Regions from separate parts of the Homo sapiens genome. Here all the other regions are linked to region 1. Evidence: promoter capture Hi-C in human tissues and cell types (Jung and others, 2019). All regions are on one chromosome and are shown on one strand. The core of a region is centred on a gene start or on the middle of the fragment in contact, and the rest is flanking DNA. Distances in the headings are between cores, read along the strand shown.

Region 1 (3,789 bases), core at 413-2,912:
AGGGAGCATGCAGATGATCTGGCCCAATCCTTTCATTCTGCAGATGAGAAAACTGAGACTCATAGGAATGAAAAGACTTGCCCAAAGCCATACAGCTTGTTTCTGTTGTTTGGTGCATTAGGCCAAAAGACCTAGGCCTAATAGATGGAAAAGATGGCAGGATGTCTTGGCCTTGCTCTGACAGTTGCTTCTCTGATCTCAGATATTTCCCACCCTTTGTAATCTGTGTTCCACACAGGAAGTAGTTCTTGTTTTTTAAATATCGAAGGTGTATAAACGTAAAGTTTTTATAGATGAGCCACCCAGGGCCAATATCTGTTTAAGTAAAGACCTAAATGCTTTGCAGAGACAGTAAAGTGTCATGTCTGTCCCAGGGAAAGAAATCCAGGACAGGAAATGCTCAGTCTTCCAGCACTCCTCTGGCTACCTGGAGCTCAGGCTATGAGCCTCAACCCCTCCCTGAAGCATTAGCTCTGGAGCAGAGGCTGTGATTTACTTCAGAGATCTGGGCAAGTCCCTTTAACCTGGTAGTCCTGCCTTTCCTTGTTTGTAAAACAGAGAGATGAGGCTGATAGCTCCCTCACAGCTCCATCAGAGGCAGTGTGTGAAATTAGTTCCTGTTTGGGAAGGTTTAAAAGCCACCACATTCCACCTCCCTGCTAATATGATTACTAAAATGTTTTTATATGAAAGGGCCAATTCCTCATCTCCCCTCTTCCTTTAAAAACAGACCAAGGGGCATCTTTTCTTGTCTCCCTGTGGCCTAAAAGGTTACTGCTTCTGTGGTTATCTCCTTGGAAAGACAGAGTGTCAGGACTCTTAGGTACACCAAAAATGAACAAAAAAATCAACAACAACCATAACACCAACAAAAATAACTGCTGTGTCGGTTCTTAAGACGGCTTCTGAGCTAGAAACAGATTTTTCTAACTGTAAAAAACGTGGCCCCAGCCTGTCTGCAGGCCACCTCTGTCTTTAGGCCTTGGGGGGAGGAGGGAAGTGAGCTCATTTACTGGGGTCTACCTCAGGGTCATCACCAAGGTGTTCTACAAAACGCACTTTAAGAATGTTTTGGAAGGAAATTCACCTTTTAACAGCCCAAGAGGTATCTCTCTCTGGCACACAGTTCTGCACACAGCCTGTTTCTCAACGTTTGGAAATCTTTTAACAGTTTATGGAAGGCCACCTTTTAAACCGATCCAACAGCTCCTTTCTCCATAACCTGATTTTAGAGGTGTTTCATTATCTCTAATTACTCAGGGTAAATGGTGATTACTCAGTGTTTTAATCATCAGTTTGGGCAGCAGTTACACTAAACTCAGGGAAGCCCAGACTCCCATGGGTATTTTTGGAAGGTACGGCGACTAGTCGGTGCATGCTTTCTAGTACCTCCGCACGTGGTCCCCAGGTGAGCCCCAGCCGCTTCCCAGAGCTGGAGGCAGCGGCGTCCCAGCTCCGACGGCAGCTGCGGACTCGGGCGCTGCCTGGGCTTCCGGGACCCGGGCCTGCTAGGCGAGGTCGGGCGGCTGGAGGGGAGGATGTGGGCGGGGCTCCCATCCCCAGAAAGGGAGGCGAGCGAGGGAGGAGGGAAGGAGGGAGGGGCCGCCGGGGAAGAGGAGGAGGAAGGAAAGAAAGAAAGCGAGGGAGGGAAAGAGGAGGAAGGAAGATGCGAGAAGGCAGAGGAGGAGGGAGGGAGGGAAGGAGCGCGGAGCCCGGCCCGGAAGCTAGGTGAGTGTGGCATCCGAGCTGAGGGACGCGAGCCTGAGACGCCGCTGCTGCTCCGGCTGAGTATCTAGCTTGTCTCCCCGATGGGATTCCCGTCCAAGCTATCTCGAGCCTGCAGCGCCACAGTCCCCGGCCCTCGCCCAGGTTCACTGCAACCGTTCAGAGGTCCCCAGGAGCTGCTGCTGGCGAGCCCGCTACTGCAGGGACCTATGGTGAGCAAGGCTACCTGGTGAGGGGAGACAGGCAGAGGGGGTCTAGGAGCCTCCTTGGGGGGAAGAAGCTGGTCACAGGCTGTGACCGAGGCAAAAGGTGGCCTAATTATTTTCCAATAGTGGTGCTGGAGGTGGGGATGCTGGCGCTGAAAGACCTTTAAATATCGGCTACTGCCCCTGCCCAGGCCTTCTCTGTCCAGCAGTCCCTGGGAGATTCTCACCTTTGGGAAGTGCGGGGCAGGAGAGCAGAAACAAGAGAAGCCCTTGGTAGGGGGGTCGTTGGGAAAAACTGTGGGGTCTTGGGCTGAACGCGTTGCCCACGGGCTGGAGGTTGCGATCCCCGGACGGAAAGCGCGGGAGGAGGAAGGAGAGAACCGGCTCTGAGGTCCAGAGAGAGTGAGGGGGCAGAGCGACGGCGAGATGGGGAGAGAACACCTAGCTGGAGCAGGTTCTGCGGTAGAGAGCGCAGTCCTGCTGGCCTCTGGAGAGTGCGCGCCGCTCCGGAGGCTGCGTCGAGGGGAGTGTCACCCAATCTGGCCCCCAGCTGGCGGGGCGCCCTGAGAGCTTGCGAACTGCAGTTGCAGGACGCGCCTTCTCCACGAGCTATTTTCGTCGACTTGCGGAACCCAAGGAACCTCGCCTCTATCATTTCACGGTGTAGGGTCCCTAGAGACGACAGCCAAGATCCCAGGGGCTCCCAGGACGCTTGTTCCTGCGGTGTCGTGTCCTATGGGGAGTTCCTGGCGGGACGAAAGGCGGACGCGCGGCTCTTCCTGGCCCTCCAGGCCCGGAACCGACGGGAAAGGTTCCCGTGATTCCCGAGTCCCTGCAGGCTTCTTCCAGCGGGAGTTGGTCCGGGGGCCTTAGAGGCCTCCAAGCACTGCTTTGGAGGATGGTTTCCAAGGATCGCGGTTTGTGAGTTGAAGGCTTTGTGAGAGGTTAAACCCCCAAAAGATACATACTTGGTAAACTGAGGCTACCTGTAAACACATTTCGGCATTAGGAGAAGATTCGAGTAGGGAAGTGAAGGACAACCACCCCGAGTTACATTCCTTTCCCCCAATAAAAAGCTCTGGGGATGAAAGTTCTTTTGGCTTTTATCTTTTCGATTTAAAAATTTGAGAAGAAAAATGTGACTAGAGATGAATCCTGGTGAATCCGAAATTGAAACACAACTCCCCCTTCCCCTTCCTATCCTCTCGGTTTTAGAACCGCGCTCTCCCGCCCCAGGAGATTCCTTGGGGCCGAGGGTTTTCCGGGGAACCCGGGCGCCCGCCCCTTCTACTGTCCCTTTGCCCCGCGGGCACAGCTTGCCTCCGTCTGCTTTCTCTACTTCTGGACCTCTCCTCGCCGGGCTTTTTAAAGGGCTTCTGCGTCTCAAAACAAAACAAAAAAACCCTTTGCTCTTCCCAACCCTTTCGCAGCCCGCCCCAGCGGTGGCGCGGGACCAGCAAAGGCGAAAGCCGCGCGGCTCTTGCCGGGCGCGGACGGTCGCGCAGGGGCGCCCGCGGCCTCCGCACCCGGACCTGAGGTGTTGGTCGACTCCGGGCATCCACGGTCGGGAGGGAGGGCTGAGCTGTTCGATCCTTTACTTTTCTTCCTCAAAGTCTACCTGCCAATGCCCCTAAGAAGAAAACCAAGTATGTGCGTGGAGAGTGGGGCGGCAGGCAACCCGAGTTCTTGAGCTCCGGAGCGACCCAAAGCAGCAACTGGGAACAGCCTCAGGAAAGGGAGGTCGGGTGGAGTGGGCTTTGGGGCAGGAGTCATGGGGCCCGGGCCCCGGGGACGACCTGGCGCTCCCGGCCCTGCTGAACGCTGAGTTGCGCCTAGTCGGGTTTTCGAAGAGGCCCTT
Region 2 (3,789 bases), core at 865-3,364, 340 kb before region 1:
TGTTGACTCAAAGAATGAAGGCTTCTAGGAGTTAGCTAGCATCTGGAAGAAGGGAGAGGAAGAAGAAGAGATTGAGGAAGAAAAAGATGAGTTAAACCCCAACAGTTTACTCATCAAAATAAATATTGTGAAGAGGTTTCTCGGGGGCCCTTATTACATGAGGTGAGGGAATCGTGCACAGAGCATTAGTAAAGTCAGTGTATCCATGTGAACTACCAAAAAAAATTTTTTTTTTTTTTTACAGATGTGAAGTCAGGCTAAGAGCCTATCCATCAGTCCAGGAATGACTAATTATTGGAGAACAGAAGATTCTCTGTAGTTTCTCCTTTGTATCAATACATGAAAAAAAAACCTAGAATTTTGTGGTCAAATGTGGCTGTAAGTGAACAGATAAGAGCCGAAGCAAATGGAAGCATGCCTCCATTCCTAAGGGAAGTTGGTGAGCTGCCCACAGAATTTGCTGATAAAGACCCATCTGTTAAAACAAAGTCGAGGAGCGTTGGCAATACATTTCAACCAGAGAGACCATAAGTGGTTATTTTTTCTTGACAGCCTTGTTGGCTTTTTTTCTTTTAAAGCCCAGAAAACTATTTGAGAATGAAATATAGATGATGATATTGGCTTTAAGTTAATGTTACACTTTTTGTTTGGAGAGAGAAAAATCCGTCGGCCCAACTTCTCTGGTAAACACTGTTGCGTGATAAATTGTTATGAGAATAAAGTCATAAGGAAAACTCAGCTTCACAAATGACACACGTAGAAAAACAGCAGATGTCTGATGAAGTAAAGAACCGACTTATTGCCAAGACCTTGAAAAACAAAATTAATTTCCTTTCGTCTTTGATAATGATGATGTAATGTAGTTAATAGGAAGAGCCTGCCACGCTCAAGTGGTTATAAAAGGAGAAACGTTCGCCAGGCACCGGGTCAGTGCTATTACTCTCACTATGTCAGTCACTAGATGAAGCGAGTGAAAGAAGCAAGGAACTTTGTTTTGTGTTGTTTGCAATGTAACTGGACTTCGGCTGTATTACGACTTTTAAGCAGCTATTTCATAAAGAGAAAAAAGGCCGTTATGTAAGTTTTGCTCTGATGATTTCAGATATTTGAAGTCTTTGGAAGTCATTATCAGTGAAAAAGATACTTCACAAGAATGAAACAAAGTCATTGATATTTTAGGGAACAATTACATTTCCATAGGGAGGAGAATGCTTGGATTTTAGGTAAATGAGGCACATGGCTGGTGCCGTTTCCCACACAGGTGAAAATTTTGAGCACATACTAAGGAAACCTTTATTCAACAATTACTTAAGCCCATGAACAATTCACAGGTGCTCTCTCCTTTCAGCTCCAGCTAAAAAGAATCAACACAAAGGCTCATTTTAAGGACATCTGACCATTGCTGGCATCTCATGTTTTAGGATGTAGAAGCTGTTGAATTTTCTGGCCCCAGTAAACTAGATTTAAAATCAATGAAGTGGTTGGCAGCATAACCATGGTCTTGATATTAGAATTGGCCCCATTCTACCACACATCTGAATTTGTTTTGTCTGCTATCAACTATGGGCCATTGGAACAACCTTTCTGTGAGGTTACTCCAACTCTGAGAAAGGGAGAAATCCCTCTCTGGATACTTGGTTGGCCACAGGGTCAGAATATCAGCCATTACAAGTACCAGTGTGGTAAGGTTGATGAAGTTAGCCCCTCTCTCCAGGGCATTCCCTTGAATGTGCATGCATTTAGGATTGAAAGTATATGTGTATCTTCCTTAGGATCCCTCTTTCAGTGGTTCCAGCAGCAGAAACTTGGCAGACAGGTCAAAAACACGACCTGGAGACTGCTAGCTCAATGCCAAACGCCAGAATTTTGCATTTTCTCTTGGTATTTTGAGACTAGTTGTTACCTCTCTTGTCTGGGGGAGATTCTTCTCCCTTGAGAAAAGAATTTTGAAGGACTCATGGATGAGTCTTTTCCAAATTCATGACAGATCTGTTTTCTCTGTTGTTTTTATTTTTTCTTTTCTGCTTTTAGACCATTTATATTAGAAGCACATTTTAAAAATTCTTTGTTTATTATTTTTCTTCTTTTCTATTTACTTCGTCTGGTATAAAGCTTGGATTATCCAGGAGGGAAACCTGACAATATACTCATTGGCCCAAACTCTACTTTGCTATCATGAGAAGTTGCCTGGTTCAATGATGCTTCAGCAAATAAAAACAATAATAATAATAGGAACTATTTATCAAGCATGGTACCATGTGTGCTAAATAGGTGCTTTTTATACTATTCATCAAACATTCATAGAAAAATGAGGTAGCTACCAGAAATAGCCTCATTTTACAGATGAGGTAATTGAGGCTTAGAGAAGTTAACTTGCTCAAGATCACACAAACTCTTCTGTGGTAACACTGGGATTGCAATGCCCATGCTCTTAATGACCAGTATATATCATTTCTTGCTGCTCTTCAACATTGTATTTTCTCTGCCTTTTAGTTACTTTACCCAGGAGTGGGGCCTTGTTCTGTGACATCAACACTGGCTATTCTCAACTGACCTGAGAGTAAGTCTGTGTGCACACAGGCTCTCCCTATTGTGAAAAGGTTCTTATTAAATCCAGGTGTTTGGTTAATACATCATGGAGGCTGCTGAAAGTGTCCTTAGACATATGGATCAGGCTGTGAAAACTCCGTCGCCACCGTAATGGGACAAGTTCAAAAGTTGCTTTTTTGATTGAACTGGGAGCTCTGGATATGTCTTCAAAACCCCTCTTCTGCTGAGATTTCAGCTGGGGGATTCTTTGCTCAGTAGTCAAGCCCCAGAATAGGGAGGAAGAGAGCCTTTTAAGCAGAGCTGTAAATCTTAAACCCTTGCATTTTCACACAAAGTTAAGCAGAAAGAAGTAAGAACTTGGGAGCTCATCTCACAGAAGAAAAAAAATTAAGGGAAGAGCTGGTGCACTTCATGTAGAAATTGAGGGTGGAGGGAGGATTAAAAGGCAGGGGAGGGACTAAGAGCTTAATAGGTAGATACTCTAGTGACGAGTTCTAAGAGAAGAAACGGGAAAAAAAGAGATACAGAAAGAGCCATCTACATGGTAGATATATTAAGAAAGAAACGTCAGGCATCAAGATAAAAGAGAAATATCTGTCTGAGGATTGGAAGATAATAAATTATTTCTTTCTTGGATTTTCTCTAAAACATCCTCTTGTTTTCATAGCTTTCTTTGAGTGGCAGTGCTGCTGATATAGCCATTATTATAGGCTAGAGAAATTAGGAATTGTACATTTTACTCTTAGGAACATTAGTTTTTTCAGCCTTGATTTTGGTTTAAGTTCCCTACCAAAAAAGGAAAAACTCAGCTTATAGCTCTGAAAAATATAAGACATTTGTGACTCTGAACAAAGAGCAGTATGAGTGCTAAATCTCAAATAGTTGTGTTTTCATTACCTGGAATGGATGGGGGCAATATGTGAAAACCCAGAAGAACTCACAAAAAAAATTGAAGTGGTTGTATTACTATCCTGCAAATAAGTACTTCTCTAGAATGGGTATGAAGGGGTTGGAAAACAATTGCTACAAATAACACCACACAAATGCGTTTTTTTTTCTTGCAGCATCATATGTATGAGCAACCATGGGCTCATTATCTTTACCGTACTGATGTTTTGGGTTCTTGAAACCAAGATGAGGTTAAAAGCATAATCTTTCCAGATAGATAAGGCAGACAAGGTTCAAGTTTCAACTTTAATCATTATTTGTTCCATATGTTTTGGGAAACCACTTGAGACT
Region 3 (3,789 bases), core at 740-3,239, 270 kb after region 1:
TACGATTCATCAATTTAGCTTTCCTTCACTGTAGTGACAGGTGTTTTAATCTCACCTAACAATATGCCTGATTAAGCTTCAACATACACAGAGAGAGGCCTGAAAAACATAACTTGGTCTCTATGTCTAAGTTTATGTTGTTAGTAATAGTTATAAGAGCCACAGCGATGGCACCATGGCGTTACCTTCTCTGAAGGCTTTCCCAGCTTTCCTAGCAAAGCTCTTTTCTCTTCCCTCTGGTTAAAAAATAAATAAAAAAAAAATAAAGGTTTTTCCTTTATTGTTATTCTTATGTGTCTGATTTTATCACATTTATTGTTTTGTTTTCTGATTGTATAAGTCATACATGCTCATTTAGAAAACTTGGAAACTATGGAAAAAGAGAAATAAAAAATAAAATCCACTCTAATCTACCTTGTTTCTATCTCTAAGGTAGCATTCGTCACTTTGGTATGAAGTTGATGTGAGTAGATCTGTCTAATCAACTAAATTTGGAGCTTCTCCTGAGAAGAACGCATGTATTCAGCTCTGTATTCCAGCTGTAGGAAGTGTGTGATGTATTGGAAACATCCCATAATTTTGAATAAGTAAGTGAATGAAAGTGTAGTCATAAACAATGACACTGGGATTAGTGAATTTTTACGTCAAATTGTATTTCCCTATTTCATATTAGCATGCATGCACGTGCATATGTATAATGAAGCTTTATAAAATTTTTTTTTGCCAAAACATACATAATATTCCCTAATAGCACAAAGGTGATCTAAAATAGTTATCAGTATCTTAAAACCTTGGCAGAATTTGAAAGATACAATTACATAATATCTGGGGCTAGGATTATTCAGCTGGACAATCGTTACTCATTTTCTGGAGAATGAAACTATAAATAAGGTTGTGTAAGTGACAAGTGAATTAGACATGAGTTCACTTGATGATCTTTGACTTCTAGAAAGGACTAGAAGTGAAATTTATCACAAAACTGTTTCTATTTCACATAAAATATTTTAAAGGAATAATATTTTTGTCTAAAGAGTGACTTGAATTGCAACATTTGACAGAAATTTCAGCAGCGTTTCCCATTTTCTTTCCATTTGGTTTTAACAAAGAAAAATCTTAATTGTCAAATTAACCAAAGATTGGCCCATACATAGAATCTGTGTTTGAAAGTGCATTATTCAGGCTCCACACAGCCTGAAGGAGACCCAAATGAAACCTCCACCGCCAGCAGTGACAGAATTGGGAAAGAAAATATTTTGGTGAAAACATTTTCTTTCAACATTTTATCTCACAATGAAATTCAATTTCCCCTTGGTGAATTCTTACATGTTTCAGTGTGTAGCTTTCTATACACTTACTACCCAATATAGGTTGGGTAGTAAGAGAACCTTTCTCCACATCAGCAGTCCCAGAGTGAAAGAGCCCTGGCAACTACAAAGAAGTTACAGACTTCAACTGCAGAATTGCTTATCTATCTTTAAGTCCTTTCTTCCAAGGATTTCTAAGCATTCGATGGGCACCATAATAGTTTGTTATTGACTTGATCAAAAGGTACTTTTAAAGTATTCACGGGATGTGGAGCCTTGCAGAGCTAACCATTTTAGTCTAGAGCTAAAATGATAACTGGCTGAACCCATACATGGGCACATAAAGTAAGGGAGACATTTCTGGGTTCACTTTTCAAAGGGAAACTGAATACTAAGATGCTAAACTCAGTTCCCATGGTAAATTTGTTCCAGAAATTTTTTTAAGAGCCCAGTTTCATATCTCACCTAGAAGTAGCTGATGAATAGAAAGAAAAAAAAAGCGTTAGGGAGTTGCTGATGTTGAAAGAGATAAGATTTACGGGTAGTTACACATTATACAGATGGGTAATTCGCATGTTGAGCCATCTAATCTTGAATTGGCTCAGACATGCCACAGCAAATTTTCTAGAAATCTAATGTTTCATTTATTGGAAAGAACCCAACGATCTAATCCTAACACAGTGTCACGTTTCACTGCTGAATAAGTCAATGCACAACATAGAATTAAGAGGCTCATTAATTATATGGTCATAAATTTGAGAGTGAAAAAGGCAAATTGGGTATTTTGGAGTAATTAATGGCTTTGGGGGATGAACAACCAATTTAGGGTGATTAACCAAATGAAAAGAAAAGCTCACCTAGGCTCTTTGGCAAAAAATCACAGTGCCTGTGACAAGGATGGGTACTTGTGTTGGCCACTTTTAATCCATATTTTTGGATAACCTTAAAAAATAGTCTTTAAAAGCCAAAAAGAAATAATTACAATTCCTAGCTTATATCAGCACATATGAGAAAACACCTGATATTTGTCAGGAACAAACGAATGGGTCAGCTTACCAGGGCTTACCAGACAGCTTTCTGCTCTCCATTTAGTAAGTCCCCTCATCCTGACTAGGCAATACTGTCATAAATACACACAGAGAAGGAAAGTCCAAAGGGAAAAGTGTTGTTGTGATAGTTTTCTAACTAAAAGAAATCATTCTAGAATTTAAGTTAAAAGATCACAAATACCTTTTCAATAGCCCAAGATGTCATAGCTCGGGATGGATCTATACACTTAAGTAAGTGTGGTGTCAATTACTGTAGACATCTCTTAGATTGTGTGGTGACTTATACCAAGGCTTATTTGTAAGGACAATGTTCTAGAAAGTCAACAAGTGGCTAACAAACTCTGTAACCAACTGTATGAATCTTAACAGTAACAACTCCTAAATTGAATGTAGTCCCAAATAATGGTGCACAAATCAAAAATAATTCCCAGTTTCATACCAGGAAAAATACAAACATCAAGACATGTGCAATACAATAGCAAGTTAAGAAGCTCTTGTGCACTGTTTTGAGACAGTGTGATTAAAGATGAATTCTAAAAATATCTTCAGTACAGACGAAAAACCAAACCAATTCATGCCTAATCTGGAAAAGCCTCCATAAAACATACATCTATACTGAAGAGCACAGCACCAGTCATTTCTTAAACTGCAAGCCATAGGTCTTCATTTGCAGTCGATGCTTTATTTTTGTTTTTTCAATGGAATGATGTTAAGGTCAAATCAATTATTTCAGGTCAAACATCTACTTTCCAAGATTCTTACATATCACTTATGCTTCCATTTTTCCAGTGGACACTGGAGCCAAGATCCCTGCCACTTGGTGCTGTCATGAACGGTCCCAGGGTAATTTCCCTGATGTGCAGGTGTGCCGCAGTGCATGGGCCGTCTCTGGAATCCAGCTCAACATTTGAACAAAGAGAGAAATTAGCTCGCCCTTTGCCCTCAGGAGAGGAAACCTGTGTCAGAAAATATCAGCCATGTCTCCAAGCTAAAACTGACCAAACCCCAAGCTTTAATTGTCGGATGGGCCCTTACATTCTGGAATGTCCTAAACTCCAGAATCTCACCACCACTGGTGCTGCACAAGGGGAAATGGGGGAGGCAGGCCTGTCTAAGGGGCCAGTCCATAGGGATACATGGCTAGAAATATCAGAAGGACTTCATTAGGGCAGCATGTCACCTATACAGTCACCTAATACAGTCTTCATGCCAGGGTCCCCCAAGGATTATGTTATAGAAATGTTCTAGTGAACTTCAAAAATTAGAGAAGGAATGCAGTGATTTATCCTAACAAGAGATAGTTCTATGTTCAGATGGAAAATCTGAGTTAAATGAACTTTGTGGGGGTTAGATACCTTCAGAGTAAAAGCTCACTTTGAATACAACATTACAGAAATGAAGGTGTATTTTATGTTGTATCAACCATCTTTTTGATG

Evidence for each region. The method cuts DNA at HindIII sites, captures the fragments that hold promoters and counts their contacts. A contact is called where the count stands out against the background at its distance.
Region 2: a fragment that was not itself captured here is called in contact with the fragment with the promoter of BMP4 in region 1 in 1 of the 25 tissues and cell types used here (lymphoblastoid cells).
Region 3: a fragment that was not itself captured here is called in contact with the fragment with the promoter of BMP4 in region 1 in 1 of the 25 tissues and cell types used here (lymphoblastoid cells).

What each region holds. Positions count from the first base shown.
Region 1 is chr14:53,954,698-53,958,486 of GRCh38, reverse strand. It overlaps BMP4 (bone morphogenetic protein 4), which reads left to right and starts at 1,662. Exons shown (of 4, transcript NM_001202.6): 1 at 1,662-1,937. It overlaps LOC124903317, which reads right to left. Exons shown (of 2, transcript XM_047432035.1): 1 at 2,159-3,789. The coding sequence starts at 2,586. RefSeq lists silencers at 1,700-1,779, 2,429-2,538 and promoters at 494-1,836, 1-1,836, 3,739-3,789, 2,764-3,789. The HindIII fragment of the contact is 13,246 bases long and covers 1-3,789 here.
Region 2 is chr14:54,296,633-54,300,421 of GRCh38, reverse strand. No RefSeq gene overlaps it. Among named protein-coding and RNA genes, the nearest start is that of CDKN3, 98 kb to the left of the region's middle. The HindIII fragment of the contact is 7,875 bases long and covers 1-3,789 here.
Region 3 is chr14:53,681,621-53,685,409 of GRCh38, reverse strand. The region is part of intron 2 of LOC105370504 (a long non-coding RNA gene); the gene reads right to left. LINC02331 (long intergenic non-protein coding RNA 2331) reads left to right here. Exons shown (of 6, transcript NR_184221.1): 6 at 1-413. Among named protein-coding and RNA genes, the nearest start is that of LINC02331, 170 kb to the left of the region's middle. The HindIII fragment of the contact is 3,198 bases long and covers 391-3,588 here.